Regions from separate parts of the Homo sapiens genome. Here regions 1 and 2 are each linked to region 3. Evidence: promoter capture Hi-C in human tissues and cell types (Jung and others, 2019). All regions are on one chromosome and are shown on one strand. The core of a region is centred on a gene start or on the middle of the fragment in contact, and the rest is flanking DNA. Distances in the headings are between cores, read along the strand shown. Region 1 overlaps RPS6KA5 (ribosomal protein S6 kinase A5). Region 2 overlaps CCDC88C (coiled-coil domain containing 88C). Region 3 holds the start of GPR68 (G protein-coupled receptor 68).

Evidence for each region. Contacts are between HindIII fragments. The study calls those that stand out against the background at their distance.
Region 1: a fragment that was not itself captured here is called in contact with the fragment with the promoter of GPR68 in region 3 in 1 of the 25 tissues and cell types used here (spleen).
Region 2: a contact is called between a fragment that was not itself captured here and the fragment with the promoter of GPR68 in region 3, in 1 of the 25 tissues and cell types used here (spleen).

Annotation. Positions count from the first base shown.
Region 1 is chr14:91,050,579-91,054,170 of GRCh38, forward strand. All of the region lies in intron 1 of RPS6KA5 (ribosomal protein S6 kinase A5), which reads right to left. Among named protein-coding and RNA genes, the nearest start is that of RPS6KA5, 8.3 kb to the right of the region's middle. The HindIII fragment of the contact is 3,602 bases long and covers 478-3,592 here.
Region 2 is chr14:91,396,017-91,399,648 of GRCh38, forward strand. The region is part of intron 3 of CCDC88C (coiled-coil domain containing 88C); the gene reads right to left. All of the region lies in intron 1 of LOC105370624 (a long non-coding RNA gene), which reads right to left. Among named protein-coding and RNA genes, the nearest start is that of CCDC88C, 20 kb to the right of the region's middle. RefSeq lists enhancers at 2,312-2,381, 2,475-3,106. The HindIII fragment of the contact is 3,448 bases long and covers 15-3,462 here.
Region 3 is chr14:91,242,826-91,246,270 of GRCh38, forward strand. GPR68 (G protein-coupled receptor 68) reads right to left here and starts at 1,879. Exons shown (of 2, transcript NM_001177676.2): 1 at 1,472-1,879. RefSeq lists enhancers at 407-516, 1,576-2,077, 1,597-1,646. The HindIII fragment of the contact is 47,768 bases long and covers 1-3,445 here.

The sequences.
Region 1 (3,592 bases), core at 1,029-3,528, 190 kb before region 3:
CCACCATGGCTGGCTAATTTTTGTATTTTTAGTAGAGACAGGGTTTCACCATGTTGGCCAGGCTGGTCTCAAACTCCCGACCCCAGGTGATACACCCGCCTCAGCCTCCCAAAGTGCTGGGATTACAGGCGTGAGCCACCGCGCCCAGCCGGCTTGCTTTTGTAAGCTATGTTTGTTTAAAAAAATAAAAATAAAAAAAAAGCAAGTATCTTATTGGAACTAATAGTTATGTTTCTTAAAAGCTAATTACAAATCAAATCATTATTAATGGAACCACATTCAAAAAGCAGCAGGGAACTGTTGTTTTTCAACAGATCCAACATGAATCCTTTGGTAAAACAGGATGATCTTTTAAAGTAAATCATAGGGTCAGGTGTGGTGGCTCATGTCTGTAATTCCAGCCATTTGGGAGGTCGAGGCAGGTGGAGCACGTGAGGTCAGGAGTTCCAGACCAGCCTGGCCAACATAGCGAAACCCCACCTCTACCAAAAAATACAAAAATAAGCTAAGCGTGGCGGTGTGTGGTGGCACACACTTGTAGTCCCAGCTACTTGGGAGGCTGAGGTGGGAGGATCACTTGAACCCAGGAGGCAGTGGTTGCAGTGAGCTGAGATCACGCCATTGCACTCCAGCCTGAGCGACAGAGTGGGACCCTGTCTAAATAAAAATAAATAAATAAATAAATAAATAAATAAATAAATAAATAAAGTAAATCACTAGCCGGGAATGGTGGCTCATACCTGTAATCTCCACACTTTGGGAGGCAGAGATGGGAAGACTGCTTGAGCCCAGGAGTTCAAGACCAGCCTGGGCAACATAGTGAGATTCTGTCTCAATAAAATGAAATTTTAAAATACAACAACAATAAAGTAAATCACCACTCTGGACTTTTTATCATGAAACATCCTTTTATTTTTTTATTTTTTTGAGACAGAGTTTTGCTGTTGTTGCCCAGGCTGGAATGCAATGGTGCGATCGCAGCTCACTGCAACCTCCGCCTCCCAGGTTCAAGCAATTCTCCTGCCTCAGCTTCCAAGTAGCTGGGATTACAGGTGCCCGCCACCGTGCCCAGCTAAGTTTTTGTATTTTTACTAGAGATGGGGTTTCACCATGTTGGCCAGGCTGGTCTCGAACTCCTGACCTCAGGTGATCCACCTGCCTCGGCCTCCCAAAGTGCTGGGATTACAGGCATGAGCCACCATGTCTGGCCGAAAGATTTAAAAAAAAAAGAAAAAGCTCACCCAAACCAACTAGGAATAGAAGAGAACTTTGTCAACCTGAGAAAGAACATCTATGAAAAACTCACAGCTAACTTCATACTCAGTGGTAGAAGACTAAAGCCTTCCCCCTAGGATCGGGAAAAGACAAGGAACTAACTTTGTCTATACCAGAATTTCCATGGAAATGCCACAGAAGAGCTTTAATGCTCGTAAATACTTTGATTATAACTCAGTCCATCACCTTTACTTTATGAATCAAAAAACTTGGGCTCAGAAAGGCAAAATGACTTATCCCAGGTCATATAGCAAATTAGGGGCTGACTTAGAACTACAGTCCACTCCCTACCTCTGTTAAATCTTTACTTAAGGCCAGATGCAGTGGCTCATGCCTGTAATCCCAGCACTTTGGGAGGCCCAGGCAGATGGATCATCTGAGGTAAGGAGTTCAAGACCAGCCTGGCCAACATGGCAAAACCCCATCTCTACTAAAAAAAAAAAAAAAAAAAAAAAAAAAAAAAAATTACCTGGGTATGGTAGTGGGTGCCTGTAATCCCAGCCACTTGGGAGGCTGAGGCAGGAGAATCACTTGAACCCAGGAGGCGGAGGTTATAGTGAGCCGAGATCAGCACCACACTCCAGCCTGGGCAACAGAGTAGACTCGTCTCTTAAAAAAAAAAAAAAAAAAACAGATTTACTTAAGAGATTGTAAATATGGATACCACTAATCAAATAGATAAGATCTTTAGGCAAGCGCGGTGGCTCAAGCCTGTAATCCCAGTACTTTGGGAGGCCAAGGCGGATGGATCATGAGGTCAGGAGATCGAGACCGTCCTGGCTAACACGATGAAACCCCGTCTCTACTAAAAGTACAAAAAAAAAAAAAAGTTAGCTGGGCGTGGTGGCAGGTGCCTGTAGTCCCAGCTACTTGGGAGGCTGAGGCAGGAGAAATGGCGTGAACCCAGGAGGCAGAGCTGGCAGTGAGCAGAGTTCGCGTCACTGTACTCCAGCCTGGGAACAGAGCGAGACTCCATCTCCAAAAAAAAAAAAAAAAAAAAAGCTCTTTAGTTGGTGACAGAACTCAATCAAGAATATTTTGGGGAGACTAGACAGAGGTATCACCAAAAAAGAACACTACAAAGATTTCTTATGGATATAGATACAAATCCTTAATAAAATACAAGCAAACTGAATCCAGCAACAAAGAAAAAGGATTATATACCATGACAAACAAGATTTATCCCAGGAATACAAGGTTGGCTTAACATTCAAAAGTTAATTAATGTAATACACCATATGAACAGAACAAAAAAAATGGTCATCTTAATAGATGCAGAAAAAAGCATCTGACAAAATCCAGCACTCTTTCATGATTTAAAAAAACACCCAAACTAGGAGGAGAAGTGAAATTCTTCAATTTGATAAAATACATCTATGAAAAACCCATAGCTAACCCCATACTCAGTGGTAGAAGACTAAAGCTTTCACCCTAGGATCAGGAATAAGACAAGGATGTCTGCTCTTGCAAGTTCTATTGAACCATAGTGAAGGTTCTGGCCAAGGCAATTAAGCAGGAAATTGAAACAAAAGATATCTGGATTGGAAAGAAAGAAGTAAAATTATCTCTATCCATGGCTAACACAATCTTATAAATAGAAAATCCTAAGGTGTCCACTAAACTATTAGAACCAATAAACTAGTTCACCAAGGTTGCAGGACACAAGGTAAAAACTGTACCTCTATACTCTTGGAATGAACAATCCAAAAATAAAAGTAAGAAACTAGTTCCTTTTACTATAGCATCAAAAAATAAATAAATAATAAAATACTTAGAAATAAATTTAACAAAAGTGCAAATTTATACTCCTTAAACGGAAAAACGTTGTTGAAAGTAATTGAAGACAACCTAAATAAATGGAAAGACATCTCATGTTCATAGATCAGACGACTTAACATTGCTAAGATGGCAACACTGCCAAAGTTTAACTAAAAATTCAATGAGATCCCTATCAGAATGCCACTGAGTTGGCTTCTTTGCAGACACTAACAAGCTGATCCTAGAATCCATATGGAAATACAAGGAATCCAGAATAACCAAAACAATGTTGAAGAATAAGACTCACACTTCTCAATTTCAAAACTTACTAAAAAACTGTAGTAGTCAAGACAGCATGGTACTGCTATAAGGAGAGACATATAGATCACTGGAAGAGAACTGAGAGTATAAAATAAATAAACCCATACATCTATAGTCAACTGATTTTCAATAAGGGTGCCAAGACATTAAAATGGAGAAAAAAATAGTCTTTTCAGCTAATGGTGCTGGAACAATTGGATATTTACATGCAGAAGAATGAGTCTGAATCACTACCTCA
Region 2 (3,632 bases), core at 489-2,988, 150 kb after region 3:
TCCCTCGACATTCCTCTCATTACTAGAAAAATAAGACGACAATTATATCGCGACAATTACATCTCGAAGGATCAAGGGGCCCTGGATGCCAAGGCGAAGCAGCAGAGAATCTCTGCCATTCCCCAAAGAAGAGCTGAATAACAAAAACTGTTACGAGCCCTGGAGGTGAGCCACGCAGCCGGCTTCACGGAGAGGCAGAGCCTGCCTGGGCAAGTTCTTCTTCAGAAACTCCTTTTGACAAACCAGTGAGAACATCAAACATGCTGATCCTGGCATCTAACACCAAACCCAAGGCAAAGGAGAAACCTCTGTTTTTTCTTTTTAACGACTTGAGAAATCCATTTCTCTCCTTTCTGTCACAAAAGGAACTGGTTCCTCCTGCCACTTCCTCCCACTTTGGCGTTTAGGGTATGTCCATAAAGTGAGCTGTGTTTCCAACCTTCATTCACGCCCGCATCACTCGATTCCCACAACACTCATCACCCACAAGTGCAGCTTTCAATCGGAGCTGAACGAGAGCTAACTAAGAATGAGCCCGACAAGCACCGGGAACACCAAGCACAGCTCACTCGCGGCTTCTGCAAGCTTAACATTCATCGTTTCAGCCATAATTTTTCCGGAAGCACAAATTCAGACCCCTTGCCCTCCGATCAGGGGATCACTCAGCTTCCACTCCCAGAAGCTTTGTTGCTTACTTTGTGCTCCCCAAGATGGGCTCATAAACACACATCTCTGTAAATAAATGGCCATGAATTAAGAAACAACTTCAGGAGTTCGAGACCAGCCTGGGCAACACAGGGAGACTCTGTCTCTACAAAAAATCAGAAACATAAATTAGCCAGAAGTGGTGGTGCATGCTGGTAGTCCCAGCTACTCGGGGGGCTGAGGCAGGAGGATTGCTTGAGCCTGGCAGGTCAAGGTCGAGGCTGCAGTAAGCCGTGATCGCACCACTGCACTCCAGCCTGGGCTACACAGAGCAAGACCCTGTCACCAAAAAAAAAAGAAAGAAAGAAAAAAACTTGAGCAAACGGTGAAAAAATCAATACTTGACATGGTAAGATAACCTGTATCAGAAACATGATTCTGGAACAAACACCAATAGGGGAGGGAGAGGGGCCTGGGGGAAGTCCCGATGTGTCAATGTCCAGAGGTGGGCAGGTCTCCAAGCAGACCCTGTGAGGCTGCATGTTCTGAGCATCTGGGCTCGGTGCTGTGCCCAACAGGCCCAGGCAAGGGGACAGCCACAGGGGCCTGGGTGGCATCCCCAACACCAGGAGTGAAAGCAAGACTCCTGAGCCAAACCTCCTTCCCGCAAAGGCTGAGGAAATGATGGCCGCTCCTGAAACAGGAGAAAAGCCCCAGCAAATCAAGGTCTTGACTCAAGTCCTAGAGAAGGAAGCCTCAGAGAACAGAAAGACTGTGTACACACACACACTCACACACACTCTCACACTCACACACTCTCACACTCATACTCACACACACACATTCTCTCCATCTCCTTGCCCTGGCTGAACTCCAACTCTGCTAATTACATCAAACCCACCTTTCGCCCTCTGCAACACCTGCAATTAACCCTGAATCTCTGCTTCCTGCCGCTCTGGGGTGAGGGGTGAAGTCTGAGGCCAGCTGCTCCCTGTTCCACCCTCCGCCCAACCCCGGAAGTTTCAGAGGTGCCTGAAGCAACCCGGTCCCTTCCTCTGGGCTCCAGGCTGGTGTGAAGCCGGGTTATCACGGGAGCCCACACTCCCAGCTGGGGGGCACACCACACGCAGCACCCCCACCCCACTGCGGGTGCAGATCCTGACTGGCCCTGCCAGCCTTTACAGGACAGCACGTCCACCTGCAGCAAGTTACCTCCCTACATGATTCTAGAAAGCCTGGCTTTTAGAAAGAAGCTTCTCCAAGCAGCTGATGATGAAGAAAACTTGCAGCTTTCCGGGGCTGTTTCCTGATCTTGCTCCATGAGCCTTGGTTTCCTAATCTATCGAATGGAGACAGTAATTTCTTCTTTATAATACCGAAGTAACAGTGAAAAATGACGAGGCTCTAAAGCCCCCAGCATGGGCACTCAGTAAAGGTTAAGCTCCCTCCCATTCATCTCTCAGCCTTTTGATTTGGGCACAGATCTGAGTCCCACAGTTCCTCGCTGCTATCTGATATGCCTGGACAGCATTTCTTCTGACAACAAAAAGGAGAGAAAAGAAAGGAAAACAAGTCCAACTGGCACTCTAACAGCTTACAGAAACCAAATCTGCCTCCCAAGAGGTTTGGGCGTTCAGCACACCACCAGGTCCTCAGCCCGTTTGCTTCACCCCTGGCCAACAGTTGAACCACTGAGCTTGTAACACCAACACTGGCTGGCATGGTGGCTCACGCCTGTAACCCCAACACCTTGGGAGGCCAAGGCAGGAGGATCGCTTGAGCCCAGGAGTTTGAGTAGCCTGGCCAACACAGTGAGACCCCATCTCTACAAAAAATACAAAAATAATTAGCTGGGCATGGTGGTGCACACCTGTAGTCCCAGCTACTTGGTAGATTGAGGCTGGAGGATTGCTTGAGCCCAGGAGTTTGAGGTTACAATGAGCTATGATCGCGCCACTGCACTCCAGCATGGGTGACAGAGTGAGACCCTGTCTCAAAAATAAATAAATAAAAAGGTAAAATAAATAATTGAAAGAAATACAAGCAGCAGGAGCCAGCAGGACAGGGAGCACCACAGGCTGGGAGTGCAGGCCTTTTGTTAAGTGTGGAAAGGGTGATTCTAGTGGCCCTGAGAGCTGCAGCCCTCTTGTCTGGCTGATCAGGAAGCTACTGCCAGCAGCCTGCAGCCCTGGGGGCGCACAGGTCTGCTGCAGAGCATGGCTTTCCTCGGCCCAGACGGCTGTTCCTGCTCCTCTAGGGTGCTTGCTCCAGGTGGGCACTGAGCCGCCCACAGCTGAGTGGTCTCCTGGGCCTCGGGCAGCCCTGTGTGCTGGTGCCCTCTCTCCTCAGGGGTTCTCCTCTCTGCGGACCACTCTCCCTCTGGTCCTCCCACTTGGGGGACTCCTCACTGTCATCTTGGGGAGTCCCATGTGCTCTGCCCAGCCCTAACCCTGGGGCCTGCTCCCACCTCCTTGGCCATGGGCAGTTCTCATTCTCCATGCCTGCTTGTGACTCTTGAGCCAACCTCCCCATGGCTCCCATCTGCATTCCCAGCCAGGAACGCTCAGATCCACCTGACCGACACCAGTGACACCAAGCTGGCTTGCTCCCCACTAAGCCCACTTCTCCTCACCCAGAGCCCCAGGCCCACCCAGAGAACAGCACCAACGCCCCAACCCCAAGTCACACCAGGAACCCACGGACCCCTCAGCCCTGGATTCCCACATCTGGGCTGGATCCCCATAGAGTCTCCTAGAGCTCGTCCTTCTCTCTGCTGCCGTGGCCACAGTCCAGGGCCCTGCCACCTGCCAACCCCTCCCAACACCTGTGCATTCTCCAAATGGGAGCAGGAGTTTTCTTTCCTAAGCTCTCTCTTTTAGAAGTTCAGGTTCCTAGGCCAGGCTCAGTGGCTCACGCCTGTAATCCCAGCACTTTGGGAGGCCGAGGCAGGTGGATCATCTGAGGTCAGGAGTTCAAGACCAGCCTGG
Region 3 (3,445 bases), core at 629-3,128:
CTTCTACTGTTCCCTGAGGACAGGCACCCCCAGATGGAAACTCTGACTTGCCCTCTACCTCATCTCCACAGGAACCTTCCTCCTCAAAAATCAAAGAACACAGTGGATGCGAAAATATTCCATAAATGGAAAAACGTAGATGTAGAGAAGAACTAAGCCACATCTGTCGAGGGCCCTGCACTTGCCAGGCAAGTTTCTGAATGTCTGTTCTCTCTTTCAACACCACTCTCATCAGCTCCCACTTTACAGATAAAGAAACTGAGGCTCAGAGAGATGAACCAACCTGCTGAAGTCTCTGCAGTTGAGATGCGGCAGGCCAGGTCTGGAACTCGGACTGGTCCATACTTTCCTTCATGCTGTGCTGACTATCATGATCATCCCAGAACCACCACCCTCAAGCCCCCAGCTCAGCCAAGCTCCAGTCCTCACAGATGCTGCAGCAATGGCCACCAGGCTTGGTCCTGGCCTGGCCCCTTCACCTGGACTATGCTTTAGCAGGTCAACCATGTTTTCAACGCCCACTGAGGAAAACCAGCCACGTGGCCAGTCCGTAGTTTGGGAAGGCATTGGAGAAAAGAATCAAAATAACACTTTATTACCCAGCTAAAAAATTGAGAAAAACTATAGAGTGACTCAACGCCTGAAAGCAAATCTTTAGCAAATGCAAATCAGCATAGAGGTCTCTGAGGACTTTAATGACCAAGAGAAATTAAGCTCCCAACAGGAAGGAAAGGCCTCTCTGACTAAGCTAGGAGTCTCTTGCATGTCCCAAGTCAGAAGGCGGAGGTGCCTAAATGCTGGATTCCAGCTGGCACATAAATAGTGATCTAACTCGCCCCCCCTTTCGTGCAGCACACACCGGCACGCACACAGACAGTTACTCATGGTGCCAGGGCTGCTCACGGAACCCCAAACCCACAAGAGCTGGGGAGTTTCCCCAGGGCCCAGCTTCCTTTTCCTTCAGTTGGCCAAACCTCTGCATGCTTTAAGCAAGGCTGTTTCATTTTCTGAAAGTGCTTTATTTTTCCCTCTGAGGAGAGGGGAAACATCAGGATGCATTTTTCCTTAGTCCCCATTTTCCCCCCAGATCGCCTCACTCCAGCAACAACGTGGACCATAGCATCTCACTTCTAGAACCCTTGTCACTGTTTCAAAGGTCAGTCCCATCTGGGCCCACGAAGTCCCTGTGAGTCAGGTGGGCTGGCATTGCTAAGCCATTTCTCAGAACCTGAAGCCCAGAGAGGCTAATGCAGGGAGGCTCAAACTCACACAGTCAGTTGGGGTGGATCTGAATCCAGAACCCACGTGTCTAGGCACCAACTTGCTGCCTTTGAGCTTTTTGGATCACAAGCAATAGCAAGAAATACACCTGACATCGCGACCCAGAACACAGACACACACACACACACACACACACACACACACACACACATCTGTACAAAGCAACAAACTTCCCCAAAGCAATACTTACCCTACTTCTTGCCACGCACTCTGATCATTTCTATTCTATTTCAATTTTTTAAATGCAGGTCATGAGCTATGAAGTTGATTTACTGACCCATGAATGGGTCACAACCCGCAGTTTGGAAACAGCTGGATGGACCCCCACCTGTGCTTTCCAGCTTCTCCTAGAGCCTCAGGGCCCCAGGAAGGCAGTGTGGTCTCTGCAACCAGGTGAGGAGCAGGCAGCTGCTGAAATCAGGATGGAGGGAGTCCTCTGAGGGGGGACTCTGAAACGAGTCCTCTCTGACTCTGCCTGCCCCAGCTAGGCTCTGCCTTCAAACCTCAAACAGCTGGGCTTCCTGCAGAGGCTCTGCAGGAGCCTGGGCACCCTTGCAGCCACGATCCCAGCTCTCCCTCCAGCGACTTCCCGCAGCCTGAACCTCCCAGCTCCGGCTAGAAAATCCCCAGCTGGAGGCTGCCCATTCCCGAGCTGAGGCAGAATCATGTGAACTCCAATCTGGTGTCAGGCTGGGCGGTTGCCGAGGAACCACTCGCCAGCCAGAGGCTGAGGGCGGCGGAATGGCTCTCTCCACGCATCTTCCTCTGCTCTCCATGCAACCCAGAGTCAGTGAGCAGCCTCGCTGGGAATGTGAAAGCCTGAGCTAGGGGCAGGTGCCCTCAGGACTGTGGTGGGGGGATACAGGAGGAGGGGGTGGGCTAATTCTAGCCACCTTTCAGCACCTACAGGATACCGGGATCCAGGCAAGGGTGGGGGAAGCCGCCAACATCTGGGTCACTGGGGCTCAACCCTGGCCATGTGCATGAGAACATACCTGGGAGCCTACAAAAAAAATACCAATGCCCGGGCCCCACCCGGGGCTGGTTAAATCATGTTTCCTGGAAGTGACGTGCCAGCATCAGTGGCTCTAAAGCTCCCTGGACTGTTCTAAAGTGCAGTGAAGGTGGGCAGCCACGGATGTGGTGAAGCAGGTAGGATCCTGTTTGGCAGAGCAGCAGAGCGAAGGCAGTGGAGCTAAGGCTCTGGGCATCAGTAAGGATAGGGCGGGCATCAATGTTTTCAACTGTGTCGGTCCCCAGAGAAGGAATCAAGCCCAGGGCTCTGGCCCCGGGGGCCCTTCTGGCTCTCAGGAGCACTTACTAAACTCCCTCCCTCACACACATAACACGGAGGATGGAAAGGCCCAGCATTTTGGCGTAACCACCTCCCTCCAAGGCAGACTCCTTGGAAGCTGATTATAAGCTACGTTGCCAGAGCCAGGAAGCCAACAGATACGGTGCATGGGGCCACTGGGGGTGCGAGTCCTTCCTGCTGGAAGTGGCCAGAGCCCTGTGCTTGGTCCCTGCTCTGGGGACCAACACAGTTTAAAACACTGATGCCCATCTTATTCATGCCAAGAGCCTTGGCTCCACTGCCCTCACTCTGTTGGTAGGGGGTCTAAGGAAATCCCCTTCAGTGGGGCCTGGGCCCTCCAAGCAAATGCTACCACATAGCAGGCCTTTTAAAAACTATTTCCGGCCAGGTGCGGTGGCTCACGCCTGGAATCCTAGCACTTTGGGAAGCCGAGGCGGGTGGATCACCTGAGGTCAGGAGTTGGAGACCGGCCTGGTCAACATGGTGAAACCCCATCTCTATTAAAAATACAAAAATTTGCTGGGGGTGGTGGCGCATGCCTGTAATCCTAGCTACTCGGGAAGCTGAGGCAGGAGAATCACTTGAACCTGGGAGGCAGAGGTTGCGGTGAGCTGAGATCATGCCATTGCACTCCAGACTGGGCGACAAAAGCGAAACTCCGTCTCAAAAAAAAAAAAGTTTCCTACGTCAGTTGCTTCTTGCAGGCCTTATGTTACGAGCAAAGGCTTCAGCTTGTTGTGGTGCAGTAGCGTGCATTTAGACACACGTGCTACTTCTGAGTTGCGGAAGTGTGGCTGGCTTTCCCTGATGTCATATAGGAGGACGCGGGGTTAGGAGCACAGAACTGAC